Linked DNA regions of Homo sapiens: region 2 is linked to region 1. Evidence: promoter capture Hi-C in human tissues and cell types (Jung and others, 2019). All regions are on one chromosome and are shown on one strand. The core of a region is centred on a gene start or on the middle of the fragment in contact, and the rest is flanking DNA. Distances in the headings are between cores, read along the strand shown.

Evidence for each region. Contacts are between HindIII fragments. The study calls those that stand out against the background at their distance.
Region 2: a fragment that was not itself captured here is called in contact with the fragment with the promoter of ZNF281 in region 1 in 1 of the 25 tissues and cell types used here (mesenchymal stem cells).

What each region holds. Positions count from the first base shown.
Region 1 is chr1:200,408,751-200,411,450 of GRCh38, forward strand. It overlaps ZNF281 (zinc finger protein 281), which reads right to left and starts at 1,286. Exons shown (of 2, transcript NM_001281293.2): 1 at 1,196-1,286; 2 at 1-973. The coding sequence starts at 955. RefSeq lists enhancers at 535-1,112, 1,113-1,690, 1,691-2,268, 1,815-1,864, 2,540-2,700 and a silencer at 1,295-1,474. The HindIII fragment of the contact is 25,771 bases long and covers 1-2,700 here.
Region 2 is chr1:200,037,728-200,040,427 of GRCh38, forward strand. It overlaps NR5A2 (nuclear receptor subfamily 5 group A member 2), which reads left to right. Exons shown (of 8, transcript NM_205860.3): 2 at 1,931-2,068. Among named protein-coding and RNA genes, the nearest start is that of NR5A2, 11 kb to the left of the region's middle. RefSeq lists an enhancer at 2,686-2,700. The HindIII fragment of the contact is 6,014 bases long and covers 1-2,700 here.

The sequences.
Region 1 (2,700 bases), core at 36-2,535:
ATCCAAATGGCTTCTCTCTACTATGAATTTTCTCATGTCTCTGTAGTAGGTATTTCTGAATGAAACCCATACTACACTGGCTGCACTGGAAAGGTCTTTCTCCTGTATGAATGAGGACATGTCTCCGCAGGTGATAGGAGCTTCGGAAAGCAGCACTACAGTGATCACAGATATGAGGTTTCTGACTTGGGGAGAGGATGGCACCTTCTCCATCTCCAACCAAAGAAGGTTTGGAAGATGCACTTGGCTTCCTCTTGGCTTTGATTCCCTGAGATTCTGGCTTTGGCCTTTTTGCCTTTTTGACATTAGTGTCCTGCTTTGGCTCCTCAGTGCCATGGTGGTCATCAGTCCTGCTACTGCTGCTGAGTAATACGTCACGGTGGTGCTGGGCTGGTTGCTGCTGGACATGCTGGTGGAGAATACTGAGGTCCTGGATGACGCCGTGACTCCCCCCTTCACCGCCTCCTAGGCCTGGAGACCTCTCTTCAGCTCCAGCGAACAGCCCCCCATAGTGGTGGTGGTGATGGTGGTGGTGGGACTGCTGCTCCTCAGGATCCGCGGGTTTCTCCTGTTTGATGCTAACCAAAGACTGCAAGAACCCCCAGGAGGTCCTCTGCGAGGGGAAGGCCGCGGCTGACGCCGCCGGCTCCTTCTTGAAAGTCATGTCCGGGGCTGGCGGAGGGGGGGGCTCAGCGGCCGGGGCTGCGGAGGTAGAGGAGGATAACACGCATTGCGGGGGAGGGGCGGCCGACCCCGCCGGCCGGGTGAAGCTGGTGACCGGGGGAAGACGGTGGTTGAACATAACCATACCCTGGGGAAAGGTGGGTTCCATCTCTGCCCTCCTGCCGCTGCTGCCGCCGCCGCCGCCGCCGCCACTACCACCGCCGCCGGAGCCGCTACCACCGCTACTGCCGGTACCTCCGCCGCCACTCAGGAACCCACTGCCGATTTTCATACCCCGGAGGAGGCCTGGCTGAAGAAAGGAGGAGGAAGAGGGAAGAGGGAGGAAAGGAGGTGGAACCGGGCCCCGGGCCGGGACCACCGCAGCGCTAAGGACCCCGCCGCGCCGCCGCCCAGACCGCAACGCGCCCAGCACTAATTCCCAGCCCAGTCGCCTCCGGCACCGGCACGCATGGTCCTGCGACTCTTCCCCAGGCCTCGCCCTCTCCCTCCTGGACCCACCGGCAATACTTACGGGTCCCGCCGCCGCCGCAGCCGCCGTCGCCTCCAGTTAATAAAAATAACGCCGTCCTCTCCACAATGGAATTAAAAGCCTCCCGTGTACTGCGCAGCCGCGGCGCAGTGTCTGCTGGGAACTCCTCGACCCGGCCAGAGGGGAGGGCTAAGGAGCCAGGGCGCCTGCGCCGCAGCTTCCGCCCGGCCTGCCTGTCAATCACTGGGGCCGTTGGGCGGAGGCGGGGGAGCAAGGGCAGGGGAGGCGGGGATTTGGAGCCCTGCTAAAAAGGGGCTTTCGAGGCGAACAGGCGTGATTGGTGGGCTGCACTGAAGGAGATGAAAGTGGTTGAGGGTTTCTGGGGGAAAGACGCTCAGGAGGTGGAACCCAAGGGGCGGGAAGTTACGGGGGACTGTACTACAGCGTGGCGTGGGAGATGCAGAGAAAGGGGCTGGAAGAGAAGGTGAGGGAAACTGAGGATTCAATGTTAGGGCTTTCTTCACTCTAGGTTTTGCAATCCAGGTCTTGAAATAAAATTCAAACCTAGAAGTGGATCATTGAGGGCACTTTTGATTCTATCAAGAAGCATTCAACTCCAAATGCTCAACATTTATTAAAACAGGTGCTTATGTTATCCCTTTGAATTTGGAAGCACTAATAATGGGCGCATATCCTTTGCATTTATGGGAGGAGCCTGCTTTGAAACCGCAATTAGTGGTACCGTTGCAACAAAAAAAAAAAAAAGAAAAAGAAAAAAACTTGTCTTACTGCCAACCTTCCTGAAGGCTACTGGAAGAGGAAACCGAGCGTAATCCAGGTGCAGCAGTCCTGTAAAACACGCCCACACACATACTTCATTATCATTACATCTTATTTAAATGCCCCCGTACCTTAGCCTGGCTAATCAGTCTGTTTGCCACGTTATGAATGCCTGGCCCTTTATATTGTTTATGAAAAATTAACCACCAGGCCATTCTAAGAGCTCTGCTAGGATCAACTCTTTCCTCGCCAGTACAGAATACCGAGAAACTCATTGCAAATTTAGAAATTTTTCTTGTAAGGGAAAATTATGAAGTAAAATCTTAAAATCAAAGTTATATCAACAAAATCAAACAACAAATATTTATTCAGTGTCTAATGTACACAAGGCACTCGATTTCATGTTAAGCATGCAGAAATCTAAACCAGACACTTTCCTAGCAAAGGATATTTATAAATGAGAAATTTTAAATAAAAGAACTAGAACTATGACAACAGCTTATTTACATAGTATGTTTTCTTAATGAAGTTACATGTACATCACAATGTTTCTAGCTAAATAACTTCTCATAATTAAATAATAAATTCTCTGGGAAATTTCACAATCGAAACCATAGGGATTATTTACTAATACTTATGGACCTCTCTCAGCCTGCCCTAAAAATTTTACAGACAATATTTAATGAGAATTTTGAGATAAGAAGAAATTGCTTTTTTTCTAATCCCATGAAACAACATGTAAGTATTCCACCACTTAAACTGACACT
Region 2 (2,700 bases), core at 52-2,551, 370 kb before region 1:
TTCCACGAAACCTGAAGTTGCTACTAAAGCTGAAGTCTAAATAACTTTGATCCTGAATATATATTGAAGAGCAAAATGACAAATCAATTAAGAGTCAGTAGTACCTGAATTGCCAGGTGTGGGTGGGTGATGAACAACCCATTTTATGTACATTATGCACTGCAAAGATTGGAATAATTTCCAAGTCACCAAATACCGGATTGGGCAGTTTCAATGTGTAATCTCTATACCATTCAAATAGAATAAACTTAGATCTTTTGAGATTCAAATTCACCCCCTTGTGGGTGGACTCTGATAATTACTTCGTTGCACAGCAGATTCTAAATATGAGGCATTTCGCATGCAGTCAGGAGGCTGGAAAGAATGTTTTTCATCTTGTTGGGAGGAGATCTGAAAACTTTGAAGATGCGGCTGGGCTGGTGGTCGAAGAGCTTGCGTAACAGATGGTTCTTTAAAACATTTTTTAAATGCTGGGCCTCGGCCTCAAGTGGATGGTCCCATCAGACAACAGAATGAAAAAGTACAGCCTGGACTGATCCTTGTATTCCGTGTGGAAACACAGGTCACTAAAACTGGAAAGTCTGTCGCTTAGATGATCTTGGGCTCCAGTCGAGGGTCTTTTAAAAGTGAACGAAGGGACTAGGGAGCAGACTGGGGAAAGAGGAGTCGCTGCCCCTTCCTCTAATTCTATGAGTGAGCTCTTGGCTTGTGGCCCGCCTCTCATTGAGCTGACCCTCGGCCCCTTCAGGGCGCCGGGGCCCACGTGTCGCCTCTTCAGGGTCTCAGTGCCCTGGGGAGTTGAAGCTGGAGGACCCTTGACCGCAGACCAACTCTGCATGTAAGAACGGTCAGCTAAATTTTCTCCTTTCAATGGTTTAAGTGGGTGTTTAACTCCCTTCATCTCCTCATCCGACACACTAGCAAGGGCACACGCCCACCCGCGCCCCCATCCCTTCTTCTTGCTTCCCCTCAGATCGAGGAAATTGCCGCTCTGGCTGCTTCTCCTTCGCCGCCACGCTCAGACAGAGGTCGCTTCTGACTAGCTGTAAGACCCGGCTGCATTTACATCCCCCCGCCCCGGGCCAGGGTGGGGTGGGAGGGGGTGAGGCGGGGTGAAGAGGTTGGGGCAGGCCGGGGGACTGGAGCCTGAGCCTCATCCTTATTGGCTGGCGGCTAGTGTCCGACCTGAGTCCGGAACCCGCGTCCGCATTCACTGTCTTCACCCCTCAATCCAGCCTTCCCCCAACCCCTGGCCCTACTTACCTCCTTCTCCCCCTCGTCTTCCCCCCTGTCCTTCCCAGCACCGTCACCCTCGGGGCTGGGAAGGGCCGTTCTCGGTCCCGCGCGGGGAGTGGACCAGGCAGGAGAGGGAGGTTGGAACTTCACAACTCCACACTTGCGATAGTGAGCAAGAGAGAGGCAGAGAGAGATAGGGGGAAGGGGCGGAGAGGAGGGGAGAGAGAAGGGAGGCGAGAGAAAGAGGAGAGAGACCCCTGCCGATCCTGAGCCAGAGGGCGGTGGAGGGAGGGGAAGGAGTCGCCCGAGCCGTCCGGGAGCAGTGGCAGCGGCACAGCCGGGGCGGCAATAGCAGCCCCGCGGTCGCCTCCGCTGCCCGCCGGGAGCTCGGCGGTTCACGGCTCCGCGCCCCGGGCAGCTGCGTCCTCGCCACCGCCGCCGCCTGCGCCCTTGCGGAGCCGAACCAGAGGGCCGGGACGCTGTCTTCCTCGCCTCCTTTTTTAACCCTGACCTCCTCCTCGCAGCTTGGGGGCGGCTCCGGAGCTGCGAGACCGGACAGGGCTCAGAGGTCCTGCCCGGCAGCCCCGAGGAGGCGGAGGCACGCTCCGGCGAGGCGAGAGGGTTGGGTTAGCAGGCATCCCGGTCGCCCCTTCCTTCTTTTCGCCGGAGTTGAATCTGTGCTGCCCGTGTCCAGGTGCTGGGCTTCCGGACCGACACGGATCCCCCATCCCCGCCCGCGGTCGCCTTGTCATGCTGCCCAAAGTGGAGACGGAAGCCCTGGGACTGGCTCGATCGCATGGGGAACAGGGCCAGATGCCGGAAAACATGCAAGGTAAGGAGGCGCCGCGCGGCGCTCCGGCTCCCGCTGCTTCCCCACCCCCGGGCTCGCCCTGCAGGCTTCAGCCTCCCGCCCCGCGCGGGCGCGGGAGTAGCCCCGCTGGGCGCTCGCAGCCGCGGGAGTCAAGCCCCCTCCCCAGGTGCAGGCATAAAAGTTTATGGCTCTTGAACAATGCGGGGCAGAGGTTTTTCCAAGCAACGTCTAATTGGCCGCTTCTAATTAAGGAAAGAGAGGCTTCCAGCTCTATGGCAACCCAAGCAGGGCAGCTTCAGGCTAAAGGTACTTTAGAATAATAAGATCATTCTAAGAAATGGAATGTCTCACTGGACACCCGAACAGGTTCTCTGTCATTGGAATTGGTGTGTACTGTACTTCAACCAGTACTCTTGTGTGGAGGGAGGCGACCCAGTCTAGGAAAGTCAACTACAGAAAGAGGTGACCTCCGAAAGGATTGTCTTAGCGCTATTAGAATACATGTGACCACACCAAAAGCCCAGGCGGACACCCGCAGCCAGCTCGGATTTGGACAATTCAACATTGCTGGCAGAACTGAAGGGAACAAGTTACCCCAACCCCATCCCCTGTACGCGTAGTGCTGAGTGAGTTGGGGGTGGGAGGACAGCGGT